Linked DNA regions of Homo sapiens: all the other regions are linked to region 3. Evidence: promoter capture Hi-C in 16 types of primary human blood cells and fetal thymus (Javierre and others, 2016). All regions are on one chromosome and are shown on one strand. The core of a region is centred on a gene start or on the middle of the fragment in contact, and the rest is flanking DNA. Distances in the headings are between cores, read along the strand shown.

Region 1 (3,721 bases), core at 1,130-3,629, 390 kb after region 3:
CCAAGAATATGACATAGCCACAGGGATGTTGCTAGGAACAAATCATTTCTTGTTTTTCAGTGCTTTATCGATTAATGTATCTTCACTCTCTCTGCTATGTAGGAGCCAGCACTCAGAGAGAGAGCTTACAACTCTGTACCACATATTAAAATCTTTGGCTATATGTAAGGTTCCCTAGTGTAAATTTTATTTATTTATTTGAGACAGGGTCTCACACCATTGCCCAGGCTGGAGTTCAGCGGTCTGATCTCGGCTCACTACAGCCTTGACCTCCAGGGCTCAGGTCATTCTCCCACTTCAGCTTCCTGAGTGGTGGGGACTACAGGCATGCACCACTATGCCCGGCTAATTTTTTGTATTTTTTTGTAAAGATGGGGTTTCCCCATGTGGCCCAGGCAGGTCTCCAGAGCTCAGATGATCCACCTGCCTTGGCCTCCCGAAGTGCTAGGACTACAGGAGTGAGCCACCGAATGCTGCCTTAGTGCAAATTCATATGTGACTTTTTTTTCTGCTTGTGCTTATAATGAATCTGTCTAGTGCCTCATGTGTTTTGGATATAATCTGAGGACTCCCCAACATATAGAGAAATTCCTGCAATTCTCAGCTTAAATTCTTCCTCCTTCCCTGATCTCCAGGCATGGGTAGCTAGGGTCTCCGCTGCCATCCCACAGCACTGTGGGTGGCTGAGGGCCAGGGAATAGGTGTGAAGTGGTTTCACTATAAAGCACAGCCTGCCTCAGCCTACAGGGGCAGCTGATAGTGCTACACAGAACATGTCTCTGTGACTTTGGAGACTTATCCTCAATTTGGAAATTGCACTTCTGACTAAGAAGACTGAGCAGAATATAGGAAGAACCCCCACGCCAAAAACAAAACAAAACAAAACAAAAACAAAAACAAAAAAACCCCAAAACCAAAAAAAAAAAAACAAAACAAAAAACAAAAAACTCGAAGTGCTAAGCTCTAAACCCCTGGACATATAAAAATCCACAATAAGTGATAAGCACAGGGCATTTATGACGGGCATTAGAGGAAAGCGAATACAGTTGATGAAGACTGTAGATAAAATCTGAACTGTGAGCACCTGCAGACACAGAGAATATGCTGCAGTGACTAAAGAGGGGTCTGATACAAGGAAATGATCTCCAAGTGCCCACTGGTGAGGGACCAGAGCAGCAGCCTTGCTCCTAACGTGCAGGGTCCAGGGCAAGAGAACAACGGGCGGCCCACGTACCATATGACTACATGTTACAAAATCAGTATCAGGTCTACAACTTGGTAGATAAAATATGCTCTAACTCCCCACCTTGACACATGTAATTTTATTTTATCTTATTTTATTTTATTTTATTTGAGATGGAGTCTCGCTCTGTTGCCCAGGCTGGAGTGCAGTGGTGTGATCTCAGCTCACTGCAACCTCTGCCTCCTGGGTTCAAGTGATTCTCCTGCCTCAGCCTCCTGAGTAGCTGGGACTACAGGTGCATGCCACCACGCCTAGCTAATTTTTGTATCTTTAATAGAGACAGGGTTTCGCCATGTTGGCCAGGCTGGTCTTGAACTCCTGACCTCAGGTGATCTGCCAGCCTCAGCCTCCCAAAGTGCTGGGATTACAGGCATGAGCCACCACGCCTGGCCAGACACATGTAATTTTAGAAAGTCCTGGAAGGTCAGGTTCAAATCACGACCTCTCATATTCCTCAGGCCTAAAACCTACTCTTTTTCTTATCCCTCCAGGCTTCCTCCTGTACAGAGAATGCTGACCAGTAAACAAAGTGTAGATCTGTTGCTCAATGGGTTCCCCAATATTTTCTTACTTGAATTACTCTTTCTCATCCCCATCAAGCAGGCTGGAGGCCCACAAAATATCCAAGTAGGAGGCAGCAAAATGAGGGCTGCTTCCAAAGGCTGAAAAGTGCAGTGCTGAGCATGACTGGGTCTTTTTCCCAAGTTCATTCGTGAGATCCACTACTCCTTTGCAGCAGTAAGTGCAGGGGGCAGGACCTGACCTGGGGGGTGGAAATTTTTTCCCCTCTCTGGAAATTCCAGCAGTGATCTTTAAGTCATATCTTACTAAAATACTTGGAAGAAACTTTGAAAGCAATAGTTACCTGGTCAGGCACAGTGGCTCACTCCTGTAATCCCAACACTTTGGGAGGCTGAGGCGGGTGGATCACCTGAAGTCAGGAGTTTGAGACCAGCCTGGGCAACGTGGTGAAACCCCGTCTCTACTAAAAATACAGAAGTTAGCCAGGTGTGGTGGTGCGCACCTGTAATCCCAGCTGCTCATTAGGCTAACAGCAGGAGAATTGCTTGAACCTGGGAGGCGAAGGTTGCAGTGAGCTGAGATGTTGCCACTGCCCTCCAGCCTGGGCAACAGAGCGAGACTCCATCCCAAAAATAAAATAAAATGAAAGCAATAGTTACCTAATGTCTTTAAGAACCATATGTAGCTCAGTCTGCATATTTTTGTCCTGCAACTGCAAGCAAAATATTTAAAAAATAACAATCTCTTTCTAATGGTTTGTGCTCCATAATAATATGATTTCAGGTCCTTTTTCCAGCCATGACACTCTCCTTCTGCCTGCTTCCATCGAAGGCTTTATACTATTTTTACAGCAACTTGCAGTCTACCACTTGCTTCAGCTCTTCCATGGCATGTCATCAACTGATAGACTAATGAGAAATTACTGTAATTACAACTATAGACTCATTACATAGGTCTCTCTTTTTTTTTTTTTTTGAGACAGGGTCTCACTCTGTTGCCCCATGTGGGGTGCAGTGGTGAGATCATGGCTCACTGCAGCCTCGACCTCCTGGGCTCAGGTGATCCTCCCACCTTAGTCTCCTGAGTAGCCAAGACTACAGGCACCTGCGACCACACTTGGCTATTTTTTTGTATTTTTTGCAGAGACAGGGTTTCATCATGTGGCCCAGGTTGGTCTCAAACTCCTGGGCTCAAGCAGTCCACCCACCTCAGCCTCCCAAAGAGCTAGGTAGGATTACAGGTGTGAGCCACCACACCTGGCCTACATAGATTTTAATCATTAAACTACATATAGCAAAGGGTACCGAAATAAGACATAAAATAGAAAACTTGCTTTTCTTCATTTTGAGTTGATTACTTATTGCTTTTCATGAAACTCTAGAGGCCAGCAGTTTCCTCCTACTTCTCTTGAGATCAAATTATCTCTCTGATTAGGAAACTCAGTGTGATAGATAAAATATCTTTTCATGACATTTATTTTTTTAGAAAGTACCTTGTAAATTAAAGGCCCCTCTTCCTAGGTGCTCACCCTTTGTGCTTTGCTAGCTTGATTGACATTTACGCTTTTACAGCTATTCAGTATTTCTCGTTATTTTGCCCAGGACCTACAGTGTCCTGAGAAGAAACCAGTAATTTAGAAGGTAAGCATTCAAGATAAAGTATTATTGCCAAATTGTAAAAAGTTGGGATGCATTTCTACTTTTTTTTTTAACATCAAAAAAGGGCCTGAAAGAAGTAAATTTCCCTTCCAAAATTGACACATAAATCTGTTTTTGCTTTTGCTCAAAATGATGAAATAATCTAGAGAAGGCAAAAATAAATAAGTTCTCACAGTGGCAATACTCGAGGTCATTGTAGAGATCTGAAGTCATTGTTGCTTTAACCTTGGCTTGGGGCATTAGTGTGACTCTTAGCTAAGCCATAAGATTCCCAGCTCTTTTATTCCTCAGATATTTA
Region 2 (4,237 bases), core at 532-3,031, 350 kb after region 3:
AGGAATGCTCCTTCCAAAGACAACTTTATTATCCTTCAGTAGAGACGCATACACTGCAGCAGCTTGAAGTAGGGAGGCTTCTGGAAACTGTGGGGATGAACCAAAAAGGAATCCTTTCCCATGCTGGGGAAGCCCACTCTGGCACAGAAACAAAGCAAATTATAGCTGTTGCGGAAACAGGCCAAACACGGCTGGCTGAGCCAGAAGTGGGGTTATTGCTCATCTCCTGGGATCCCATTGTGTGTAGGTCTCTTGTCCTCCCCACACCAAGCTCCGGGTCTCCTCACCCCCGTGCCAGCTGGGAGGCCCATAGGCTGCCAGGCATCTTGTAGAAACACACCAGAGCAGCCGCAGCTTCAGCTCTTCCCTCCCTGCCTTCCCTCCTGCCCCAGGGTGAAGGAGAGGGGGCTGGCCATGGGAGAGACCAGAAAACGAAGGGGAGAAATGGAAGCTGGTTTCCACAGAAAGAGATGGTTGGTGGGACCCGTGTCATATGTCAAGTTGGAGGAGCAAAGGCCAGTTGGGAGATGGCTGTGGCCTTTGTTGAAAGGTCTGCCTGGGAGCCAAGTTTCAATTTCTGGCTCCCTTTAGACAGGACCGGTTTCTCTAATAGCTCATTGAAAGGTGAGAGAAAAAGGAAAGAGCACACAAACTGACCCCTTTAAAAATATGGCAAAACCTAAAATGTCTTTGGAAATTTCAAGAAGTCCTTGAACAGAATCATAGTTTCTTTTTTTTTTTTCTTTCCCTGAGGAAATTCAGCATGGACCTGTCTCCCTCTTGTGGAATTAATTTTGCCTCTTGGTTGTACAGTGTTTAGTAAAATAAGAGGAAAACTTATGGGGACTTCCTGTTACCTTGTTTCTCCATTGTCTTTCTTTGTGCAAGAAAAGACAGCAGTATTGTAATTATCAAAGAAAAAGCTTTAATTTTCTGAAATGAACAAGCATTTAGAAATAAACTTTTAATCTAACACTTTATAGTAACAAAATTCTGCCTGTAAAATCTAGTGCTTAAAGATTTAGTTTTACTTAATTCTTCAACGTTAGACAGAATATCGTCTCCATTTTATGGTTAAGTGTCAACAAAAAGAGTCAAATTCTGTAAAATATTTGAAGACATTTATTCTGAGTCAAATATGAGTGGCCATGGCCCATGACACAGCCCTCAGGAGGTCCTGAGAACATGTGCCCAAGGTGGTCGGGGTGCAGCTTGGGTTCCATACATTTTTTGGGAGGCAAGAGACTTCAATCAAACACATTTAAGAAATACACTGGTTTGGTCCAGAAAGGCGGAACAACTCAAAGGTGGTGAGGGTTGGGGGGGCGGTCCAGTTTATAGGTAGATTTTAAAATTTTCTGGTTGACAATTGGTTGAGCTTATCTAGACCTGGGATCAACAGAAAGGAAATGTCTGGGTTGTAATAAGAGGTTGTGGAGATCAAAGTTTTATCATGCAGATGAAGCCTCCAGGTAGCCGGCTTCAGAGAGAATGAATTGTAAGTGCTTTTTTTGTTTTTTTGGTTTTTTTTTTGAGATGGAGTCTCGGAGTCTCACTCTGCTGCCCAGGTTGGAGTGCAGTGGCCCGATCTGGGCTCAACGCAACCTCTGCCTCCCAGGTCCTGCCTCAGCCTCCCGAGTAGCTGGGACTACAGGAGAAAGCCACCATGCCCGGCTAATTTTTTTTTGTATTTTTAGTAGAGACGAGGTTTCACTATGTTGGCCAGGTTGGTCTCGAGTGCCTGACCTCATGATCTGCCTGCCTCAGCCTCCCAAAGTGCTGGGATGACAGGTGTGAGCCACCGTGCCTGGCCTGTAAATGCTTCTTATCAGACTTAAGGTCTACATTGATGTCGATGCCAGTGAGCTATAATGAATGCTGTCCAACCCTCACTTCCTGTCCTGGCCTAAACCAGTCTCTCAGGTTAAATTTTAAGAGCACCGTGGCCAAGAAGGAAGTCCATTCAGATGGTTGGGGGGACTTAGAATTTTATTTTTGGTTTACATAAGGAAGGTAAAAGAAGGACCATGACAAAACTAAATTTATTTTTCTTTAGCCAAACTCCAAAGTTCTTTGCAGAATTGTTAGCAACAATGACACAAGACAACAACAGCTTGTTACAAAAGGTAGCTAGTCGGGCATCAGCAGGGCAGGAGAGGGCATCTCCCACTCACCAGGAATGTCAGGTGACCATTGGATGATGGTCAGGCAGTTGTCACAGTACCTCTCTAATATAATAATTGGTTGCAGCCAGCGCCAGGGAGAGGCAGTTTCCCAGTACATAAAAACCCCTGAAACTGGTAATGGGCAGCTTTCAGAAATTGGGCACGTGGTCTCGAGCATGCACGTTAAGAGGCAAAATGGTGGAGTATGACCTTCCCGGCATTCCACTGGAAAAGGGAGGAAAGCCTCAGGTGAGCATGCATACAACTCCAGTAAACACACCACGCGCTCACCTCCTAGGCACCAGTAGGCTACCTCGCATGTGGGTGGCTCACCTTAAGGGAAGAATCAAGGGAAAAAGGGATCACAACACCGGAAGTGAAATGCATATGAAATGCTAGGTTCAAGATCAAATGGGTCAGTTGACCTCCAAGTTGCCACTTGAGTCTCTTCCAAGTGTACTTTCCTTTCTTCTCTAAAGCTTTTCAGTAAACTTCCGCTCCTGCTCTGAAACTTGCTTCAGTCTCTTTTTCTGCCTTATGCCCCTCAGTTGAATTCTTTCTTTTGAGGAGGCAAGAATTGAGGTTGCTACAGACCCATAGGGATTTGCCACCTGTAACTCAGATAACTTCCACCAGTAACAAGCTGATATTTATTAGCATTTGCTTTTCGCAAAGCATTAGGCCAAGCACTTCACCTAAATTATTGATGTGGCTCTGATGAGTGGAGGAACACCAGGGCTCTTGTCTCACATCAAATTAGATAAGACACAAACACACGTGGAGTGGTTTTAAGGAGCGGAGAATTTAATAGGCAAGAAGGAGTAAGAAGGAAGGGAGAAGGAAAAAGCTCCCCTGTACAGAGACAGAGGGAGGGGGACTCCAAAGCCAAGAGAGGGAACCCCACTTGCCACGGAAACCAACCAGGTATATGAAGAGGCTGGAGGAGGCGATGTTTGATTTGCGTAGGGCTCAGGGGGTTGGTTTGACAAGGCATGTCATTCACATAGCCCGTGAAAAAAATGGCCCTCGTACCCTAGCCTTTTAATATGCAAATGCAGGGCACCATGATGTTCTACACATGTGGGGATAGATGGGGGCAGCCATGTTTCCAGGCACATGTGGGGCAAGGGCAAGAAGGCTGCAGGAATCACCATGTTGGGTGGACTCAGTTTCTAACGGCTGGCATTTGCTTATTAAAGGTTGCCAGACTGGCCATGTTGGGTGGACCCAGTTTCTTTTTTTTTTTTTGAGACGGAGTCTCGTTCTTGCCCAGGCTGGAGTTCAGTGGCACGATATCGGCTCACTGCAAGCTCCACCTCCCAGGTTCACGCCATTCTCCTGCCTCAGCCTCCCCAGTAGCTGGGACTACAGGCACCTGCCACGACGCCTGGCTAATTTTTTCTATTTTTTAACAGAGATGGGGTTTCACCATGTTAGCCAGGATGGTCTAGATCTCCTGACCTTGTGATCAGCCCGTCTCGGCCTCCCAAAGTGCTGGGGTTACAGGCGTGAGCCACCGCGCCTGGCCGGGTGGACCCAGTTTCTAATGGCCAGCATTTGTATATCAAAGGTTGCCGGCCTGGCTCTAAGAGCTGGGGCTTTACAAGAAACTTTTCCAAAGATGCTTTAAAAAATGAAAACTTTCCAAGGACGCTTTTTCCTCTCTATTTGCCTAAAATAATTTCTTAATAACTCCTACAACATTATCTTACTCTTTGCAATAAAATTACTGTCTAATTTTACTAGGAAACTGAGGCTTAAAGAGGTTAAGCAACTTGTTTAAGGTCACATAACCAATTGCTGAGGTTTAAGTTGGATTAATATCAATGATCCTAAATGGAGACTTAGGAACAAAGAATAACAGAAGCACGTATTAAATTGCTCTCTCAAATTCTGGCCTTCAGGAGATGAGCTGAGAGAGATGTAAATAATCCATAGGGTATTTTTTTTTTCCTTCTGTGACATTTTGAAAGATAATCAGCCTATATGTGGGGTGGATCATATTTCATAATTATTTGCAAGGTTAAATTAAACATTTAAACAGAATACTTTTGATAACACAGAGAAATTAC
Region 3 (4,274 bases), core at 70-2,569:
CCAGATATCGGATGTATATATATTCCATCGGATGTGTATATATTCCACACAAAATTGGAACATTTGTTCTCATGCTACTATCAACATTGTCCTATCTATCAATTTATTTTAGTTAATGACAACAGAGAACATGAGTTGAAAATAGCATTACAGTTTTTCATCATACTATTGTTAAACCCCCGCTATGATTTGGATGAAAAATCTATTTTCTAACTAAAACTTACAGGTAGATGGGAGGAATAAGTTCTAGTGCTGTAACACTAGGATGAATATGGTTAACAATAACTTAGTGTATATTTTCAAAAAGCTAAGAGGATTTTGAATGTTCACAACACAAAGTAATGATAAATGTTTGAGGTGATGGATATGCTGAATATCCTTTGATCATAACACATTGTTCATATTTATTGAAATATCACTGTATATTCCATAAATATTTACAATTGTGTGTCAAATGAAAATAAAAGGAAAATTAAAAAAAATAAAAATAAACACCGAAAAAAATCACTACTAAGATCTGAGTCTTTCGGAGAGCTGAATTCAAAGCTGAAAAAAGGAAGAAGAAGGAATACATAGTCCTAGGACATTTTCTATTGCAGCCTCTGGGAACGCCTTTAGACATCCTTCAGCAGGTTTCTTTGCTTTCACTCTCTAGGGGCTACTTCTTTCTCATGAAAACTGTGACGTTGCTTCTGAAAACTCAGTGCCTGTCTGTCCTTTTTGCGTGCATTTCCTAGAAGATCCCACTAAAGGGGCATTTTGTCCCACCGTCTGTGAGCTGGTGGTGCCGCTTTGGCTCTGTGGCCTGTAGCTTGCAAAAGGAGATGACCTGCCCTAAAATGTCACTCGCGCCCATCAAAGCCACAGTCACCGGCTGCCGTAGCTGCAAGCTTTTTTCTGAAATCCAGGTACGCTAATCTAAAGTCAGACATCACAGCTCTAGAGAAGCTGGCTAAGAAAGTGAAGAGGGGCTCACTTTCAGCCTCCGCGAGGACACACCTCCGCAGCCGCCGCAGCTCCCCTGGCCCCCGCAGGGAGATTCGCCCGGGCACCGTGGCGCGGGCCTGCGGAGCGGTTTCCGCGGAGAACCCGTGCCAGGGCGCATCTGTGGGTCGTGGAGTCGGGCGCTTCCTTCTATAATAAGCCTCCTCAGGAAGGTTAAAATGAAGCAATTGTCAAAACGCCAAGGGAAAGCAAAGCTTCAGAGTATCCTGCATAATAAGCATGTCCTCCTTACAAGAGGCAGCCAGAAGGTGTGGTCTGGCCACTTACCTAGCGCTCTCTCAGCACAGGTCCCAGGCAGTGCTCAAGTCCAAAGTCAGAAGCGCCCCTCACAGTCCCTAGGAGAAAGCCGCTGACGCCATCATCAGTAGGGGATTTGCATTTCTCCTCCCACTTGAGGCTTTCCTGTGCGTCAGTGTTCGAGTCTCTGGGACTTTACTTGGGTCAGTTCCCACCCACTCTATTCTAGAAATGCTAACACGCAGAAACTGCCAGGCTGGAGCCCCTTCACCGGGCGTCCTCTTCCCTCTTATCCCTCCCAGCGGCTCTCGCAACTGCAGGTGGCTCAGCAGTGCCAGGAAAAAGGGGAGGGGCGGGGCATACATTTTCTTCAGTGGTTTCCTTAGACAATCTGAGATCCTCTGCAGAGTTACTTACCTGGAGCCCAGTTCTTCAGCTTCCTCTCTCCCTAGTATAAGGCTCCACTCAGCCTGGTGAACCACCCCTGGGATGGAAGGGATGGGTAGCCAGGATCAAAACACCAAACTCATAGACCTTACTGGGCTCCAATTCCAGCGGGGTCCGCTCACTCCGACGAGGGTGACCTGACCCAGAGGGTTGGGCCAAGTCCTGGGTAGGCCACCAGTGCTTGCCCTTCCTGACCTAGCCTCCTCCTACTCTCCTTGAGTAGCCTTGCCCCTGGTTGCTACGGTGCGTTCTTCTCCCTTTGTGACATCAGCCTGTTCTAGAATCACAGAGTTGGAGGAAGTCTTGGTCCCATCTAATGCTAAATCCTCTTTCATATCTGAAGAGACCCAGTGAGGTGACCAAGAGGACTCAATAAGTTAGCCACGGAGCCCGATAATAGCCCAGGTGTTTCCCTTCCCACTTCAGTGGTCTTTTCATTTCATCTCCTTGTAGTTAGCTCTTAACCCCTTGATTCACAGTAGGGGTTCAATAAAATAAAGAGAAGTCCAGGCGTGTGGCTCACACCTGTAATCCTAGCACTTTGGGAGGCTGAAGTGGAAGGACTCCTTGAGCCCAGGAGTTTGAGACCAGCCCAGGCAACACAGTAAAATCCCACCGTATATTAAAAAATCAATAAAAATGTTTAAGAAAGTAAAAATAGTAAAACAAAGACAAAAATAAAGACAGACAGACAGACTGAAAGAAAGGTAGAAAGTGTCACTCAATTTGGTTATACACATGCTTAGAGCAATATACCAAGGTGAAAGGCCTGCCTCCCTCTTCCCTGACGGGTTTCACACAGGTACACCCTCTGGATTCTTCTCTCCCAGGTGACATTATCATGTGCTTAAACTTACCACCCACCCCCAAATAGGTCAATCAATCCAAAGTCACACTTTCCATATCACTGTAAATTTCCTGGTTAGGTAGGCCTGGTCCCCACTGCTTGTTGAGCAGGCAGTTTCCAGGAGCTTATGCTGCTCTGACCCTACATAAGAAAGTGCCAATTTCAGGCTATTCCATAAGCTACTAAGCAAAGTCTGATTTTCTTCTGGAGAAGCTGTCACTGCCTATAGGAAAAAAATCCAAATTCTTGGCAGTTTAAGTTCTGTACAGTTTGGTCCCAACCTATCCAGGAAACTTTTCTCCCCTATAAGAGCCCATGATGTGACCCAAGCAGTCACCTCAGCTGCCCAGATTAACCTCATATTTCACTACCGAGGCTTTCTTCAACTGGATATTCCTCCCTGAGCCTACCTACTTAGTGAAATCCTATAGTTCTCAGTGAAGACTTCCCGATGACCTGAACCCACAGCAATGTTTCCCTGCTCCAAATTCTTCATACTTCCTGTCCAAACCAGCGCTCTCCAAGAGAAATAAAATGTAAGCCACATATGTAATTGTAAATTTTCTCATAGCCATATTAAAAAGGAAAAAAGCACAGGTGAAATTAATTTTAATATTGTAAATAACCCAATATATACAAGAATCTTAACATTTTGGCATATAATCAATATAAAAAATTATCAATAAGATACTTTGCATTCCTTATTTCATACTCAATCTCTGAAGTCTGGTGTATATTTAGCACTTACAGGGCATGTCAGTTAGGACTAGCCACATTCCAAGCCACATATGGCTAGTGGCTGCCGTGTTGGACAGTGCACATCTAGACCACTTATTTAGCACTTTTCACTTCCTGCCTCATAGTGTTAGTCACACTGGTTTTACATGTCCTTATCATTATCATATTCAATTGTTGAGTGCCTGCTGTACAAAACAGAGTTTGTTCTCCTCCTCCTTTTCAGGGCCTTACCTTGCGGCTTCCACAGCAGTTTTTAAACCTTTTGTTCTCAAGATACCATTATTCCCTTAAAAATTGTTGACAAACCCAAGGAATGTTTGTGTATTACTGTTCTGGATGAAATTTTTATTTACTGTGTTAAAACTTAAATCTGAGAAAAAATTAAAATATGTATTTATTCCTTCAAAATGACAATAATAAACCCACTCCATGTTAAACATGTTTTAAGAAAAACAAATATATCTTCCAACATGAAAAACGTAATGAGAAGAGTGGCATTTTAAAAATCTCTTTAATGTCTGGTTTGAGAGAAGACAGCTGGATTCTCATATCTGTTTCTGCATTTAATCTGCTGCAAAGTATTATTTTGGTTGACATATTTGAAGAAAGTATGGACTCACACATTTATGTAGTTGGAAAAGGGGAGTATTATAATGACCTTTTCAAATAATTATTCTTCTTTGATACCACATCAAAACTCAATGAGTGGTAGTTTCTGAAGGGCTAGTTGCATTGTGAAATCTGAAACCTTATCAACATATACTTTATGTATACTTTATGTAAACATATACTTTATGTATACTGTTACATTCAAATCTTTTGTTGTATATATTTTGAATGAAACTATTACCCACAAATTATTTTGCAATGTCAGACACTGGTCATTTAAAAAACATTGGTCCACTGAAGTATGCAGATTTTCTAAATGCTGCCTACTTCATCATACAATGAATACAACATTTCATCATACAGTGTTCAGAAATTCATGTCAGGTAATATC

Evidence for each region. The method cuts DNA at HindIII sites, captures the fragments that hold promoters and counts their contacts. A CHiCAGO score of 5 or more calls a contact.
Region 1: a fragment that was not itself captured here is called in contact with the fragment with the promoter of STAT4 in region 3 in 1 of 17 cell types (M2 macrophages); the score reaches 5.3 in M2 macrophages.
Region 2: a fragment that was not itself captured here is called in contact with the fragment with the promoter of STAT4 in region 3 in 3 of 17 cell types (M2 macrophages, M1 macrophages and M0 macrophages); the score reaches 8.5 in M2 macrophages.

The regions. Positions count from the first base shown.
Region 1 is chr2:191,540,193-191,543,913 of GRCh38, forward strand. The region is part of intron 2 of LOC107985833 (a long non-coding RNA gene); the gene reads left to right. Among named protein-coding and RNA genes, the nearest start is that of NABP1, 140 kb to the right of the region's middle. RefSeq lists a silencer at 1,368-1,530. The HindIII fragment of the contact is 9,670 bases long and covers 1-3,721 here.
Region 2 is chr2:191,500,973-191,505,209 of GRCh38, forward strand. No RefSeq gene overlaps it. Among named protein-coding and RNA genes, the nearest start is that of NABP1, 180 kb to the right of the region's middle. The HindIII fragment of the contact is 1,721 bases long and covers 922-2,642 here.
Region 3 is chr2:191,149,675-191,153,948 of GRCh38, forward strand. STAT4 (signal transducer and activator of transcription 4) reads right to left here and starts at 1,320. Exons shown (of 24, transcript NM_003151.4): 1 at 1,273-1,320. RefSeq lists a silencer at 960-1,009 and enhancers at 1,480-1,529, 1,660-1,739. The HindIII fragment of the contact is 5,548 bases long and covers 1,198-4,274 here.